6 separate regions of the Homo sapiens genome follow, and regions 1, 2, 3, 5 and 6 are each linked to region 4. Evidence: promoter capture Hi-C in 16 types of primary human blood cells and fetal thymus (Javierre and others, 2016). All regions are on one chromosome and are shown on one strand. Each heading gives the region's core, a stretch centred on a gene start or on the middle of the fragment in contact. The rest is flanking DNA. Distances are from core to core; before and after follow the strand shown.

Region 1 (2,700 bases), core at 191-2,690, 360 kb after region 4:
TTACAATCCACTTCTGACACTACTCATTTTCCTCCCCTCAGTAAATCTCTTACTCTTACTGGGCGTGTCTAGTTTCTCTCTTCCACAACTCCTGGGAGACCCTCCTGACATCGCCCATCCGCGCAGGCTGCAGAGAGAGATCAGTGGGAGGAGGAGGAGCCGAGAGCCACCACTTAGGCTTCCAACCAATCCCTACCAGGGTGGGCGGAGCCCACTTCCTGATTGGCTGCACTCTCTGTGTCTTGGGGTGGGCGAGAACGGCGGGGCCACGCCCCCTAACTAGGCAGCCAATCAGGACGTGGGGTGCTGGTTTCTCCATTGCGAAGCTTCAGCCTTTGATGGTTTGGGTCCTGGGAGTCTGGTTAGTACAAGGGGAAGCCTAGTGGGTCTGGCGCTCCGTTTTCAAGACACTCGGAGTCCGTCTTTGAGGGGAAAGGTCATGGCCCTGAAACCACCTTCTGCCACCCAGCCTGCTCCCAACGCGCCAGCTACCCCAGACGCCCCCCCTACCACAGGTGATCCAGGTGCTTCAGCTGCCCCAGGTTCTCCCACTACCACAGGTGGTCCAGGTGCCCCAGCTGAGGTGCCCCAGGAGCCGCAAGAGCCTACACAGACACCAGAGGAACTAGCATTTTACGCCCCAAACTACCTATGTTTGACCATCTTTGCTATACTTTTATTCCCTCCATTTGGATTGGCAGCTTTGTACTTCTCTTATGAGGTAAAATAATGCCCAAGTCATAGCCCCCGTCCTTTTTTTTTTTTTTTTTTCTTTTTGAGACCCAGTCTCACTCTGTCCCCCAGGCTGGAGTGCAGTGGTGCAATCTCGGCTCACTGCAATCTCTGCCTTCCCGGTTCCAGCAATTCTCCTGCCTCAGCCTCCTGAGTAGCTGGGATTACAGACATGAGCCACAGTGCCCGGCTCATTTTTGTATTTTTAGTAGAGACGGGGTTTCACCATGCTGGCCAGGCTGGTCTCGAGCTTCTGACCTTGTGATCCACCCGCCTTGGCCTCCCAAAGTGCTGGCATTACAGGCGTGAGCCACTGCACCCAGCCTACCCTGTCCTCCATTTGGCCCCTGCATCTGCTCCTATCCTGGGACCTGCATAGGGGCTTTCCCTCAGTGACTGCAGGTCTCCAACCGTTCTCCCCAGGGTTCCTGGACACAGAAACCCACATCTATGCTTCCACCCCTACAGACTATGAAGGCCAACCAGAACAGTGAATGGGAAGAGGCTTACATCAACTCAGGCCGAACTGGTTGGTTCGGTGCATTCGTGGTAATGATTGGCTTAGGCATCATTTATGGCTTGGTCCTATATTAATGAAGTCTAGGCATAGCAACCCAGGGGTCCGCTCCCCAACCGAGCCACTCACCAAACACTAACCAGCCAAGTCAGCCATCAGGCAAGAAATTCAACCGCTGAGACATCTAGCCAAGAAATCCTCTAACCAAGGAACTCAACATTCAAGAAACCCACCAACCCAGGAACACACAGACCACCTGCCTGTGCTACTTCAACTCACTCAGCTCCAGAGCTGTCTTCGTTCACCCTAGGGGTCCACACTTCATGCCCTAGATCCCTTTAGCTCCTTGACACTGGGCTGTTCTTTCAGAGGAATTTTAAACCAAAAAACTGGAATGGAATGTTCTGGTTTCCTGTGGTGTGTGTGTATGTGTGTGTGTCAACATGCCCATGATTGTTTTCTGGGTCAGTGGTCAGTATCTGTGTTTCCCTGGAGCTGTTTCCTAGACTGTGAAAATCAGAATGTCCCAATGGGGAAGCCCACAGACATAGAATTCAGGCAGATGTCAGTTAAAAACTTACCTCTGACACTGAAAAACTGTATAGCCCTGAACAGATACTTTTCTTGAGCATAGTTCCTTTGTCTCTAAAGCAGGCATAATTGCCAATGTGGGGATGATATTTAGAAATCTGAACTGATGTTTATTCTCTAGGGGTCTTCTCATTTGAGCTGGGATTGGAGATGTCTAGTGTCTCAGAGCAGCAATAAGAAAACAGAAACCTCTTCCAGCTTCTGACATCCAAATGTCAAGCTCTTAGGAGAAGAATGGAAAGTCCTCAAGAAATGCAAATAGCTTTGGCAGAATAGCTGATGAAGACCACCTCTCCCCCCTCCAGAAAGGCATTGGTTCCCCATTCATGGAAAAGGGAATGTAGAGAGAGATTAGACAATAGTACATCCATAAGGTTCCTGGAATCTGCATCTGAGGAAGAGGGGCGTCAGAGACCCCAGCTGTTATCTATAATCCCTCCTCACAGATAAGGCCTAGAGAGGCTCCAAGTTCTCAAAGAAGATATGCTACATGGTGTAGACATTTACAAAGAAATGACCTCAGACAGCCAAGGAGGATACCCCATGGCCCAGCCTAGTGAGAAGAAGGTGGGTTCCATAGGAATCCCAAGTGCCAGGTGGAGACAGAACTGTAGAGGAAAACTAGGGATAAGCAGGGAGCCATCGTGCATGAATCAAAACAGAGATCTAGACTGACACCATGGGCCACAGACACCCCGGGGCTGCCTCTGATGCCCAAGCTTCATGGACAACCCCAAGTTCAGAACCAGATGAATATTTAGCACAATATTTAGCAGAACTAAGTTTCCACCACCATGGAGAATGGGGATTCTCAGTAGAAAGTCAATGGAGCTGCTGGGCAAGAGACTGCTCACTGTCCC
Region 2 (2,700 bases), core at 31-2,530, 260 kb before region 4:
TTTCTCACCCTCCACATCGGAAAATTTGGTCAGCTTGACTTAAAAGACATCAAGTTCCCAATCACTTCCTCTACCTCCAGTCCTCACTCTGGTCCGGCCAGCCGCAGCACTGGCCTGGGCTATTCCATTAGGCTACTCCTTGGCATCCCTGCTTGCGGCTCACTCCATATTCAGTTCTCCACTGTGCATCCACAGGGAGCCTGTTAAGACCTGAGTCACAGCATCTTCCTCCTCTGCCCTAAACCTTCCATGGCTCCCAACACCCTCAGAACAGAGGCCCAGCTCTGCCGTTCTGAGCTGTCTTCAGCCCACCTGCTCTCTGGTTCCAGCAGACATAATATTAATAACACTGACCTGGGTGGGGTTCCTTGAACACTCCCAACTCAGTCTCCACACCGTGCCCCACCCCACCCCCAAGCTTTTGCGCACGCTGGTTCCTGTGCCTACAAAGCCCTTTCTCCCTCCATCCCATTACATTTCAGCAACGGAAGCCACTTTATATAAACCCTGCCCTGATTCAGGATCCTAGCTGGGAGCAACTCCCTTCCAGGGTCCCCTGACTCAAAAGCAAGGAAATGGGAAAGGCGAAAAGTCCTAGAACAAAGCCATCTTTTGCGTCTCAACACCGAGAACAGAAGCGTGGGGGGCCGACAGCGAAGGGCCTAACGTCCAAGCACTCACCTGCGCGGGGTCCCGCAGCGCCGCCGCTGCCATCGGAGTCTGTGGTCAGAGCAGGGCCCCACGGTGCGGGAAACCACGGGGCGGGGGTAGGGGGTCTCGCAGGCTGAGGCTACCACCCACCTGGCCGTGCCCCAGACGAGGTGTGACCCCGGGCTGAGGGTCGCACTCCTAGCCTCAGTCTCCCCCGTGCAAAATGCGCAAGGGGCCCGGGGCGCAGGCTCCGGGGGCGCCGAGAGCGCGCAGCTCCGCTGGGTACCCCCGTTGCAAGGGGTCACGGCTGGTGCAAAGGCGCGGAGGGGGTCCCGGCCTCACTGTCCCCCTCGCGGTCCGGGAAAGCCGGCGGGGCAGCTTCACGGGCGTAGCCCCAGCCGCCCCGCCCCCAACTCGGGGTCCCCAGCTCCTGGGGACTCAGCCTCCCCGCCGGGAAATGACCTGCGAGGCTGCAGTGCAGGAAGTTCCGGCCCCCACCGTGGCGGCCGGGAGAGTTGCCCTCTCCCGTACTGTCATTGGCCTGGCGCCAGCCGCTGGTGCACAGGCAGGGCCTGGGGATCGCGAGTTTCTGCCCAGCCTCTCGTCAGGCTGAGGGTCCAGGGCGGGAAGGAGAGCGGATCTCGTCGGGTCTCCACCGCCGCCGCCTGCAGCCCTCGGGCCTTCCCCTTAAAGGGGCCGCTCCCGAGCCTGCAGCCGCCCGCGCTAAACCCCGCCCACCCTCCGAGGTCCAGGAGGAGAGCCCCAGTGCTCTTCCTGCGCGTGTGGGCATCGGCCAGCCGCTTCACCCCTAAGGGACCTAAATTCACACTGGAAAATGGGGATAGTACCCAATGGGCGGGGTCTTTGCGTTGTAATATTAAATGTCGCTCTGATTCAGGGCTTCTCAAACCAGCAACATCAGCATCACCTGGGGACTGGCTGAAAATGCAGGTTCTGGGGCAACAACTTAAATCTAAGGACTCAGAAATTCTGGGGATGGGATTCAGCCTTCTCTACTTTTTGCGGGGGGGGCGGGGGGGATGGGTCTCGTTCTGTTGTCCAGGCTGGAGTGCAGTGGCCTGATCATAGCTCACTGCAGCCTCCATCTCGGGCTCAAGCTATCCTCCTGCCTCAGCCTACCAGGTAGATGGGATACAGGCGTGCACCATCATACACAGCTAATTTTAAAATTTTTTGTAGAGACTGGATCTCCCTGTGATGCCTAGGCTGGTCTCAAACTCCTGAGCTCAAGTGATCCTCTCACCTCGGCCTCCCAAAGTGTTGGGAATTGCAGGAGTGAGCCATGGTGCCAGGCCTCCTTCTCTGTTTTAACAAGCCCTCTGGGGACTCCAATGCTGGCTCCAACTTTACAGCAGGGACTCTCATTGAAATCCAGTAAATAAAATGGGAAAAATAACACTACATTGTTGCAGGAAGTCAGGGACCCCGAACGGAGGGACCTGCTGAAGCCGTGACAGAAGAACATTAATTGTGAAGATTTCATGGACATTTATTAGTTCCCCAAATTAATACTTTTATAATTTCTTATGCCTGTCTTTACTGCAATCTCTGAACATAAATTGTGAAGATTTCATGGACATGTATCGCTTCCCCAATCAATACTCTTGTGATTTCCTATGCCTGACTTTACTTTAATCTCTTAATCCTGTCATCTTCGTAAGCTGAGGATGTATGTCATCTCAGGACCCTGTGATGATTGCGTTAACTGCACAGATTGTTTGTAGGGCATGTGTGTTTGAACAATATGAAATCTGGGCACCTTAAGAACAGGATAACAGCGATTTTCAGGGAACAAGGGAGATAACCTTAAAGTCTGGCTGCCTGTGGGACGGGCAGGACAGAGCCATATTTCTCCTATTACCAAAAACGGGTAAGAGAAATATCGCTGAATTCTTTCCCCAGTAAGGAATATTAATAATTAACAGCCCTGGGAAAATAATGCATTCCCAGGGCAGTGCCTCTAAAATGGCTGCCCTGGGAGTGTCTGCCTTATGCACATGTAGATAGGGATGAAACACACCCTAGTCT
Region 3 (2,700 bases), core at 6-2,505, 460 kb after region 4:
AGGTCAGGGCTGGGCACAGTGGCTCACGCCTGTAATCCCAGCATTTTGGGAGCTGAGGCAGGAGGATTGCTTGAGGCCAGGATTTCCAGACCAGCCTGGCCAACATAGTGAGACCTCATCTCTCCAAAAAATTTAAAAATTAGCTGGCCATAGTGGTGCGCACTTGTAGTAACCGCTAGTCGGGAGGCTGAGGTGGGAAGATCGCTTGAACCCAGGAGGTAGGGGCTGTAGTGAGCTGTGATGGTGCCACTGCATTCCAGCCTGGGCAATAGCAAGACCCCGTCTCAATAATAATAATAATAGGCCAGGACTTGCTAGATGGGAGGCCGGGGTTTGACCTGACCTCTGACCTCTGGGCAGTCAGGTAGGTAGGCCGCCATCTCTGACCCACATCTGCCACTTGGCTTTCGGGCTCCATCCTACCATATACCTGCAGAGTGTGGCTCAGTCAGACCGGCAGCAGCGTGGCCTCACCCAGGCGGGCCTGCCTGCAGGACAGGTTTGTCCGCCCCAGCCCCCAAACTCAGAGGCCGGCTCCTGTGGGTAAGAGGGGAGCAAAGAGGTCAGGGCTATGTCAGGGCCCGGACCCCTTGAGGGACAGGCAGCCATTTGATGGCTGTTCCCCCCACACCCCAGGTGACTGCATCCCTCCTCAGCCTCTAACCCTCCACGGCTCTCCAGCGCCCTCCTCACCTCGCACTGAGGGCCCGTGTGGCTTGGCCCCTTGCCACCTCTCCAGGTATCTCTTTCTCTCTCTTGCTCCACTGAGCCAAGCTCTCTCTCTCACCATCTGAGATCACAGAATGGAAATAAGAAACTGTGTTATATAGCAATCAAGCCAGGCACATGCCTCTGACTACATCCACTTTTGCTTACACTCCTTCCATGAGGGCAAGTTGGTTCTTTTTTTTTTTTTTTAACTAAAACGTAAAAACACACACCCCTGCCCTTTCCTCAGGTGTCCCACGCCCACCAATTCCTCCTCTCTGGTCCCCGCGTCCTTGGCTGGTGTTAGAAAAATGGCTACAAGCTTCCTGGGAATCAGATAATAAAGCTTACAGGAACTCTTCCCAGATTTAAAAGAGCTTAATAAATAAATAAATAAAGCTTACCTTCTAGAGGGGAAAATAGATAAAACCAATAAGAAAAACACATGTTAGAGGCTAATAAGTGCTAAGGAGAAAAATAAAAGAATGAAAGACAAAACAAAAACCTAGCCGGGCGGGGGGGCGCGGTGGCTTACGCCTGTAATCCCAGCACTTTAGGAGGCCAAGGCGGGAGGAACGCTTGAGGAGTTCGAGACCAGCCTAGGCTACATAGTGAGACCCTGTCTCTACAAAACAATAAAAAAATTTTTAAAAATCGCTGGCCATGGTGGCAAGCACCTGCATCACAGCTGCTCAGGAAGCTTAGGCAGGAGGATCACTTGAGTATGGCAGTCGTCGCTGAAGTGAGCCAAGATGGCACCACTGACTCTGTCAGCCCAGATAACAGTCTCAAAAAAAAAAAAAAAAAAAAGATGACTGGGCATGGTGGTTCACACTTGTAATCCCAGCACTTTGGGAGGCTGAGGCAGGCAGATCACCTGAGGTCAGGAGTTCGAGACCAGCCTGGCTAACATGGCGAAACCCTGTTTCTACTAAAAATACAAAAATTAGCTAGATGTGGTGGCATGTGCCTGTAATCCAAGCTACTCAGGAGGCTGAGATAGAAGAATCACTTGAACCTGGGAGGTGGATGTTGTAGTGAGCCAAGATCGTGCCACTGCACTCCAGCCTGGGTGGCAGAGCAAGACTCCATCTCAAAAAACAAAAACAAAACAAAACAAAGCAAAAAACGGTGAGAGGGCCTGGTGCCCCCTCTGGAATGTTTTTCATTGTCTAGGTTTGACACTGTGCTGTGCCATCACGTGTGGGGCTGGGGAAAGTGCAGATTCCGGGGCACACGCCTGCCCTTGGAGCAGGGATGGAGTCAGCTCCATCTATAGGGTCTGGTCTGGGAGGAGGGAGAGGGTGCTTGCCCAGAGCAGGCTCAGACCCTAAGCCTGAGCCTAGGGAAGGGTGAGCCGACCCTGGAGGCAAATGGACCACAATCCCCCCTCCCCATCAACCTTCACCAGCGATTCCGGGATAAATGACACAGACAGCACTGAGAATTCCATGGTAGTCGTTATTATTACTGTTGTTTTTATTAATAGCAGGGGCCCCATCACTTACCTGTGGGTTATCAATTTATTACCTCTCAGTTCCATTTGTCATCTGGTGCCAGGTTAGGCTTTGTCAATAGAGGGCGCTGGAGAGCCACTGAGGAGCCAGGGCCCCTCTGCCTCACTCCAGGGCTTTGTGTTCTTCCTACTGCGCTGTGACCAGCAGGTGGCTGCTATGCTCCACATTATAGGGAGTGACCTCCACTGCCACCCTCTCCTCCTTCTCCCTCCTCCTCCTCCCTCCTCCTCCCTCCTCCTTCTCCCTCCTCCTCTTCCTTCCTCCTCCTCCTCCCTCTTCCTCTTCCTCCCTCCTCTTTTCTTTCATCCCTCTTCCTTTCTCCTCCTTCTTCCTTCTCCTTCCTTCACCCTCCTCCTCTTCCCTCCTCCTTTTTTCTCTTTCTCCTCCTCTTTCCTCCTCCGCCTTCTTCCTCCTCCTCCTCCTTCTTCCTACCCCTTCTCCTCCCCCTTCCCCTTTCTTTTAAAAGACGGGGTCT
Region 4 (2,700 bases), core at 191-2,690:
AACCTCCGCCTCCCGGGTTCAAGTGATTCTCCTGCGTCAGCCTCCTGAGTAGCTGGGATTACAGGCACGTGCCACCATACCTGGCTAATTTTTGTATTTCTAGTAGAGACGGGGTTTCACCATGTTGGCCAGGCTGGTCTCGAACTCCTGACCTCAGGTGATCCACCCACCTCGGCCTCCCAAAGTGCTGGGATTACAGGCATGAGCCACCGCGCCCAGCCTGCATTTCTTATTAAGGGGCAGGTGGACTGGGGGAGAGGAGGGGAAGGGGCTATTTTCCAGAGGCTCCTGGCAGGAAGTAAGAAGATGAGTGTGAGTTCTGGGAGGCAGGCCTTGATGGGAAGCCCCGGGGGCACCAGCCTCTCCTCCAAGGTCTCACTGACCTTTCCAGATGAAGCAGGGGCCTGTTGGAGCCCCTAAGCTTCCTGGGCTTCCCCCATCACAGCCCCATCTGTCTGCCTGGGCTTCTCCCATCCCGGCTCGCACCACCCTGGGCTGTGTCCCCCTCGGACTGTTTAAGAGCAGGGCCTGGCACTGTCCTGATGACCACTACGTGGCTGAACTGCAAAGAACGCCCACTCATCCCTCTGCACATATTACCAGGAAGGATCCCCTGACCGGAAGAATCTGGGTAGGGGCCAGAGGCAGGGATTCCATCACCTGTACATGGATCCTAAGGGACAGTCGAGCCACACAAATTCTGTCTTCTCATCGAGCCTGAAGTTGTCAAAAATGACGTAATCCACCCTTAACTGTGTGTTATTGGTGCACTGGACGTGGCAGGCTTCCACCTGCAGCTCAGGCCGCAAGCGGCTAGACCACACCAGCACCTCTCCCAGATAGAGCCAGCAGGGCATGGCTTCCTCCAGAGGCTCCTCAATGTAGCGGTACCCCAGGCGTTTACACTCGCCCGGCTCCTCACAGCGGTTGCAGTCCTGCCAGGGCTCCCACCAGGTAAAAATGAGCTGTTTGCTGCCCAAATGCAGGGTCTCGTTCTGCAGGGGCCTCTGACCCAGGTCCTTGTGTGTTATATGCAGGGTGGTGACATCCTGAAAGTCAATTTCATACTGCACCACTTGGCGGCCATTCTTGTTCCAGCAGTGGTAGAGGCCCGTCTGGGAGGGCAATGGATCTTTAATGAGAAGGCTGCCCTCGGGCATTATTTCCATATTGGAAATATTGGTGAGGCTGGTGAGCCTGCCCTTCTTGCCTTGTGTGAATAAATAGTACCAGTGCGCCCCCGAGGAGTTGCAATACAGGAGAATATCATTGCCTGAGAGTAGGGCCTGTTGGCACTGCTTACCACTGGGGCAGCTGATGGAAAAGTAGAACCCCAGTGCCGGGGCAGCAAAGTGGAGCAGCAGCCACAGCATGGGTGGCATGGTGGACTGGGGCTGTGGCAGTGGGCTGGTGCCACCCCGAACATTGTGAGGTCACCCATGAACTCTGGCCTCAGCCCTGGGCAGTGGGATGAATTGCAGCTACCACATGTGTGTGTGAGGTCACCATCCCCTTTTGTTTTGTGACAAGCTGACAACACTGTTTTTCTTTTTTTTTTTTTTTTCAGACAAGGACTCGCTCTTTTACCCAGGCTGGAAGGCAGTGCTGCAATCACAGCTCACTACAGCCTCAAACTCCTGGAATCAAGTAATCCTCTCACCTCAGCCTGTTGAGTAGCTGGGACTTCAGGTGCATGCTAACCATGCCCAGCTAGTTTAAAATTTTTTCTGTAGAGACGGGGTCTTGTTATGTTGCCCAAGCTGGTCTCGAACTCCTGGCTTCAAGCCATCCTCCCACCTTGGCCTCCCAAAGTGTTGGGATTACAGGCGTGAGCCACTGTGCCCCGCTGACCATATTTAATTTCTATTCCAAGCCCTCCATTTTGCTGGGAAAGGAGCAAACTTAATTTGTCTATTCAGAGTTTTCTCTACTACCTGCCCCGCTTCCTTTCCCAGGGGTGAGACTACATTCCCAGGGATGAAATAAGAGCATGAAGGTGTCACATGTGAACACTCAACACATATTTCCTGAACTCTTACTATGTTCTGGGCACACTTCTTAGCACTGGGGATAAAGCAGTAAACAAATCCTCTCGGGCTGGGCTCGGTGGCTCATGCCTGTAATCCCAGCACTTTTGGGAGGCTGAGGCGGGCGGATCACCTGAGGTCAGGAGTTCAAGACCAGCCTGGCCAACGTGGTGAAACCCCGTCTCTACTAAATAGCTGGGTGTGGTGGCGGGCATCTGTAATCCCAGCTACTCAGGAGGCTGAGGCAGGAGAATCACTTGAACCTGGGAGACGGAGGTTGCAGTGAGCCGAGATCGCACCGCTGCACTCCAGCCTGGGTGACAAGCGTGAAACTCCATCTCAAAAAAAATAATAAAAATTTAAAAAAATTTATCTCTGGTTACTGTTCTGACCTCCTGCACCTTTCCCCCTACTCCCTACCCTCCAACCACGCTGGCCTCCCGCTGTTCCCTGAATCTGTCAGGCAGGCAGAGGGGCTCTTGCCCCAGAACCATTGCACATGCTGGTCCCCGTCTCTTCCCTCAGCCATCTGCATGACTCAATACATCTTCAACAAATATTTTTCTCAGTTGCTCCCTTTCCTTCCATCCCCTTTTCTAAACACCTTCTCAGGCGGTGGCTCACACCTGTAATGCCAGCACTTGCCAGCACTTTGGGTGGCCAAGATGGGAGA
Region 5 (2,700 bases), core at 56-2,555, 380 kb after region 4:
AGAAGGAGAAGGTTCAGATGCTTTTTTTTTTTTTTTTGAGATGGAGTCTCACTCTGTCACCCAGGCTGGAATGCAGTGGTGCAATCTTGGCTCACTACAGCTTCCGCCTCCCGTATTCAAGCCATTTTCCTGCCTCAGCCTCCTGAGTAGCTAGGATTACAGGTGCTCACCACCTCAACCAGCTAATTTTTTATAGTTTTAATAGAGATGGGGTTTCACCATGTTGGTGAGGCTGGTCTTGAACTCCTGACTTCGTGATATGCCCGCCTCGGCCTCTCAAAGTGCTGGAATTATAGGCGTGAGCCACCGTGCCCAGCCTTTCTTTTTTTTTTTTTTTTTTTTTTCTTTTCTTTTCTTTTTTTTTTTTTTTTGAGACGGGGTCTCGCTCTCTCACTCAGGCTGGAGTACAGTGGCATGATCTCGGCTCACTGCAACCTCTGCCTCCCAGGTTCAAGTGATTCTCCTGCCTCCACCTCCTGAGTAGCTGGGATTACATGCGCCTGCCGCCACGCCTGGCTAATTTTTTTATTTTTAGTAGAGATGGGATTTCATCATGTTGGCCAGGCTGGTCTTAAAACTCCTGACCCCAGGTGATCCACCTGCCTTGGCCTCCCAAAGTGTAGGAATTACAGGCGTGAGCCACCGCGCCTGGCCGCCCGGCTAATTTTTATATTTTTAGTAGAGCTGGGGTTCTCCATGTTGGCCAGGCTGGTCTCAAACTCCTGAGATCAGGTGATCCACCTGCCTCAGCCTCCCAAAGTCCTGGGATTACAGGCATGAGCCACTGGGCCCGGCCCAGGTTCAGAAGCCTGACTAAAGTTTGGCCAAGCAAAGAATCCTTGTCAGGAGGCTGTAAATAAGAGACCTGTGAGAAATAAAAATTGTCAGGTGTCTGAGCCCAAGCCTGCATGTATACATCCAGATGGCCTGAGGCAACTGAAGAACCACAAAAACAAGTGAAAATGGCCAGCTCCTGCCTTAACTGATGACATTACCTTGTGACATTCCTTCTCCTGGACAATAAGTCTCCGGAGCTCCCCACCGAGCACCTTGTGACCCCCGCCCCTGCCTGCAAGAGAACAACCCCCTTTAACTGTAATTTTCCACTACCTACCCAAATCCTATAAAACTGCCTCACTCCTATCTCCCTTTGCTGACTCCTTTTTCGGACTCAGTCCGCCTGCACCCAGGTGATTAAAAAGCTTTTACTGCTCACACAAAGCCTGTTTGATGGTCTCTTCACACGGACGCACGTGACAAAAATAAAATCCTAAGTCCGCCAACTGGCTGAATGAACACTGTCTTGGCCAAGGGGCCTACAGAGAAACACTAAAAGCTGAGTTCCTAGCCGTGACTGAACGGGTGGTCGGGCACACCTCATTCTACCTCCTCCCTTGCTGACTGCCATGAAGCTTTCTTCCCTAAGGGTTAAACAGAAACCAGCCCTATTGAAAGACTCATTCACTGCTAATTTCAACCAATGGCCTGAAATACATGGCTGCTCCTCCCTTTTGTGGTTTCAACATAACAACTGACCAGCATTCCTTCCTGATCAGAGGCCACCTAACCACGGGGTGTGGCTCTGGCCAGTCTACAGAGGCTGCACACAAAGGGCCTTTGTGTCCTCTGCATCACCTTTTGATGTATAGGGCCTAATTGTAATACATTTAAGTGTTAAGTCTCCACTCCAAAGTGAACATGGGGCCTGGCACGGTGGCTCACGCCTGTAATCCCAGCACTTTGGGAGGCCAAGGTGGGCGGATCACCTGAGGTCAGGAGTTTGAGACCAGCCTGGCCAACATGGTGAAACCCTGTCTCTACTAAAAATAAAAAAATTAGCCAGGCATGGTGATGGGTGCCTGTAATCCCAGCTACTCATGAGGCTGAGGCAGGAGAATTGCTTGAACCCTGGGAAAGAGAGGTTGCAGTGAGCTGAGATCGCACCACTACACTACAGCCTGGGTGACAGAGTAAGACTCCATCTCAAAAAAAAAAAAAAAAAAAAAAAAAAGTGAATATGGGATGTTACTACACATGTGCTGTACCTTCCCTTCATGAATATTCATAGCTCCTCCTATAACCTGTTGAATATGTATACTGAGCCAAGCCATTCAGCGTTAACTCTGACCTTATCCTTCCCTTACTGGAGGTGCCTGCTCTCAGCTTCTACCGGAGGCTACACTTCTCGGCCTGTGAGATGGCCCGGCTGCAGGCTGCAACTCTTTATGAGAAATAAAGCTCTCCTTTCCAAATTTGTAAACCTGTATTAGTCTGTTCTCACGCTGCTGAAAAGAACTGCCCAAGACTGGGTAATTTATAAAGGAAAGAGGTTTAATTGACTCACAGTTCCGCAGGGTTGGGGAGGCCTCAGGGAACTTAAAATCATGGTGGAAAAGAAAGCAAAAACGTCCTTCCTCAGATGGCAGCAGGAAGGAGAAGTGCCAAGCAAAGAGGGAAAAGCCCCTTATAAAACCATCAGATCTCGTGAGAACTCACTATCTCAAGAACAGCAGCATGGGGGTAACCACCCCCATGATTCGATTACCTCCCACTAGGTCCCTCCCACAACACATGGGGATTTGGGGAACTACAATTCAAGATGAGATTTGGGTGGGGACAGCCAAACCATATCAAAACCTCATGATTCTTCAGTTGACATCTAATCTGAGCTACCATGGTCTATCAAAAAACCACAGCTCT
Region 6 (2,801 bases), core at 224-2,723, 400 kb after region 4:
AGGTGTGAGCCACTGAGCCCAGCGTTAATGGTATTTTTTAAAAATAGTTCTTATCGGCCGGGCCGAGATCGCGCCACTGCACTCCAGCCTGGGCGACAGAGCGAGACTCCGTCTCAAAAAAAAAAAAATAGTTCTTATCTGTTAAGGAGACATAATGGCGCATTTATGACTGAGTTGATGTCTGGAATTTGCTTTAACATACTCCAGCAAAAAAATATAAAAATAAGAAAAGTATAAGGCCATGCGCAGTGGCTCATGCCTGTAATCCCAGCACTCTGGGAGGCCGAGGCGAGTGGATCACTTGAGATCAGAAGTTTGCTACCAGCCTGGCCAACATGGTGAAACCCCGCCTCTACTAAAAATACAAAAATTAGCCGGGTGTGGTAGTACACACCTGTAATCCCAGCTACTAGGGAAGCTGAGGCAGGAGAATCCCTTGAGTCCAGGAGGTGGAGGTTGCAGTGAGCCGAGGTCACACTACTGCAATCCAGCCTGGGCGACAGAGCGAGACTCCGTCTCAAAAAAAAAAAAAAAAAAAAGAAGAAGGTACTTTGTAACATTCTCCCCGCCCTTGAGAATGTACTTTATAAGCCTATCCCAAACCTGTAAGAACTAATGATAATCCCACCACCCTTTGCTGACTCCTTTTTCGGACTCAGCCCGCCTGCACCCAGGTGAAATAAACAGCCTTGTTGCTCACACAAAGCCTGCTTGGTGGTCTCTTCACACGGACGCGCGTGACAAAGAAGTATAGATCAAGTGAAATCCAGAAGTGTTGAATATTGGTAGCGTTTGAGATGTACTTAAGAGTGCGTTATACTATTCCCCTTAATGTGCATGTTTGAAAATACTCAGAATAAAACACTTGTGAGGGCTACGGGAAAAAAAAAAGGGTCAGCTGTGGCCCAAGAAAGGACAGGGACCAAGCCCACGGACGTGCTCCTCTGAGTTGCACTAGTCTCTGGGCCTTGGCTCCCACCCTGAACAGCTCTCATCTTTAAATGTCTTCAGCTGTCCTCCTCCAGGAAGCCGGGTCAGGCGCTTCCTCCCGGGCGTCTCCGGTCTTCCTGGAAACCACAGGTCGGGTGTCAACCTACTCCAGGATAGGGGCCCCGAGGGGCCAGCCAGGCCTCCCAGCCTTGCCCAACCCTGGGGTTGACACGGACTTTAGCGTCTTTTTAAACTTCCGGCGCGGGCTCTGCGGTGGCACAGGAGGGTCCTCCAAACTTTCCTGCGATCTCAAAGGTCCAGATTCCACATTGGGGATGGGCCCAACTGACTTTGCTTCGCTCTCATTAGCCGGTGGTCCTCCAGGAAAGCGGGGCCGCCTCTCCGCTGTGCTCTCATAGGCCCAGGTTCTTGCGTTCGTGTGTCCTTCTCTCACTCTGATTGGCCTATATTCCCCCTGAGGGTGTGGCCAAATCTCATTGGCTCTCGCGCCCGAATGTATGACGTCATGCGCCAGCGCCCGTCGCTTTTGCTGGACGTCATCCTCGGGAGCCCACCCGGACGAAGGGGGAGAGTAGACAGCAGAACCAGCGGCGGCGGCTAAGCAGAGACTGTAGTAGCGGCGACAGCGACGACGGCAGCGATGGCTGGGGCGGGGCCAGCCCCGGGACTCCCGGGTGCAGGAGGACCCGTGGTCCCGGGTCCTGGCGCTGGCATCCCGGGCAAAAGCGGCGAGGAACGCTTGAAGGAAATGGAGGCGGAGATGGCCCTGTAAGGCCCGCGACAGAGAGTGATAAAAGTCGTCCCAGAGCCAGAGCCACCGAATCTCGGAGCCTCCAGGCCTCGATAGGCCGGAGATACGGCTCTAACATGGGGAAGTGGGACCTTCGGGATTGTGGGGGCGGGGATAGGGGAGAGGTTGGCAGGGGTGAGGGTCCCCTCGCGATATACCCACAGTTCCAAAATTGGTACGAGGTCCTGAGCGCTGATGTCTGTTCTACTCCTCCAGGTTTGAGCAGGAAGTTCTGGGGGCTCCAGTACCTGGAATCCCAACTGCTGTGCCTGCGGTGCCCACTGTCCCCACGGTCCCCACAGTAGAAGCGATGCAGGTCCCAGCGGCTCCTGTGATCCGCCCAATTATCGCGACCAACACATACCAGCAGGTACGGCTGAGCTAAGGCATGTAAGTCAGGGAACACAATGCCTCGAACAGAGTAGGTGTTTGTGTACAGAGAGCTGTTGACGTTTTGGCTTGTTGACTAATTAGCATGACAAATATTTTATATGCCAGGCACTGAGAACACAGTAATGACTGAGAGAGACATTTCTGCCCTGTGGGAGCTTATATTCTAGAACATGTTGTCCAGTAGAGCTTTCTGCAATGACGAGACTGTTCTGATATATTTAAAATTTATATTTAATAGTTCGTTATTCTCATTAGTCACATTTCAAGTGCTCAGTAGCCAACTATATATGACTAGTAGAGAAAGAGAGAGAAATTATTAAGATGAAAATAGGCTGGGCGCTGGGCGTGGTGGCTCACACCTGTAATCCCAGCACTTTGGGAGACCAAGGCGGGCAGATCACGAGGTCAAGAGATCGAGTCCATCCTGGCCAACATGGTGAAACCCCATCTCTACTAAAATTACAAAAATTAGCTGGGTGTGGTGGCACGTGCCTGTAGTCCCAGCTACTTGGGAGGCTGAGGCAGGAGAATCGCTTGAACCCAGGAAGCGGAGGTTGCAGTGAGCTGAGATTGCGCCACTGCACTGGAGCCTGGTGACAGAGCGAGACTCCGTCTCAAAAAAAAAAAAAAAGCCCTGAGGCAGGTGCATACCTGTTGTGTTGTTGTG

The links. The method cuts DNA at HindIII sites, captures the fragments that hold promoters and counts their contacts. A CHiCAGO score of 5 or more calls a contact.
Region 1: a fragment that was not itself captured here is called in contact with the fragment with the promoter of FAM187B in region 4 in 4 of 17 cell types (naive B cells, total B cells, naive CD4 T cells and 1 more); the score reaches 6.0 in naive B cells.
Region 2: the fragment with the promoter of ZNF792 here is called in contact with the fragment with the promoter of FAM187B in region 4 in 12 of 17 cell types (non-activated CD4 T cells, total B cells, naive CD8 T cells and 9 more); the score reaches 16.2 in non-activated CD4 T cells.
Region 3: a contact is called between a fragment that was not itself captured here and the fragment with the promoter of FAM187B in region 4, in 2 of 17 cell types (total B cells and naive B cells). The highest score is 6.4, in total B cells.
Region 5: a contact is called between a fragment that was not itself captured here and the fragment with the promoter of FAM187B in region 4, in 1 of 17 cell types (naive B cells). The highest score is 6.2, in naive B cells.
Region 6: the fragment with the promoter of RBM42 here is called in contact with the fragment with the promoter of FAM187B in region 4 in 1 of 17 cell types (total B cells); the score reaches 5.1 in total B cells.

What each region holds. Positions count from the first base shown.
Region 1 is chr19:35,585,821-35,588,520 of GRCh38, forward strand. PMIS2 (PMIS2 transmembrane protein) reads left to right here and starts at 353. Exons shown (of 2, transcript NM_001395412.1): 1 at 353-721; 2 at 1,156-1,476. The coding sequence starts at 440. The coding sequence ends at 1,326. The HindIII fragment of the contact is 2,233 bases long and covers 325-2,557 here.
Region 2 is chr19:34,962,949-34,965,648 of GRCh38, forward strand. ZNF792 (zinc finger protein 792) reads right to left here and starts at 1,281. Exons shown (of 4, transcript NM_175872.5): 1 at 682-1,281. The coding sequence starts at 714. LOC124904699 (a long non-coding RNA gene) reads left to right here and starts at 478. Exons shown (of 2, transcript XR_007067236.1): 1 at 478-725. RefSeq lists silencers at 623-672, 783-1,042. The HindIII fragment of the contact is 6,406 bases long and covers 417-2,700 here.
Region 3 is chr19:35,691,631-35,694,330 of GRCh38, forward strand. No RefSeq gene overlaps it. Among named protein-coding and RNA genes, the nearest start is that of ZBTB32, 12 kb to the right of the region's middle. The HindIII fragment of the contact is 301 bases long and covers 1,106-1,406 here.
Region 4 is chr19:35,227,299-35,229,998 of GRCh38, forward strand. FAM187B (family with sequence similarity 187 member B) reads right to left here and starts at 1,441. Exons shown (of 2, transcript NM_152481.2): 1 at 661-1,441. The coding sequence starts at 1,382. The HindIII fragment of the contact is 8,324 bases long and covers 420-2,700 here.
Region 5 is chr19:35,603,714-35,606,413 of GRCh38, forward strand. No RefSeq gene overlaps it. Among named protein-coding and RNA genes, the nearest start is that of LINC01766, 7.2 kb to the left of the region's middle. The HindIII fragment of the contact is 210 bases long and covers 1,201-1,410 here.
Region 6 is chr19:35,627,563-35,630,363 of GRCh38, forward strand. RBM42 (RNA binding motif protein 42) reads left to right here and starts at 1,474. Exons shown (of 10, transcript NM_024321.5): 1 at 1,474-1,719; 2 at 1,958-2,111. The coding sequence starts at 1,592. RefSeq lists enhancers at 444-971, 897-1,136, 1,285-1,579. The HindIII fragment of the contact is 21,053 bases long and covers 1-2,801 here.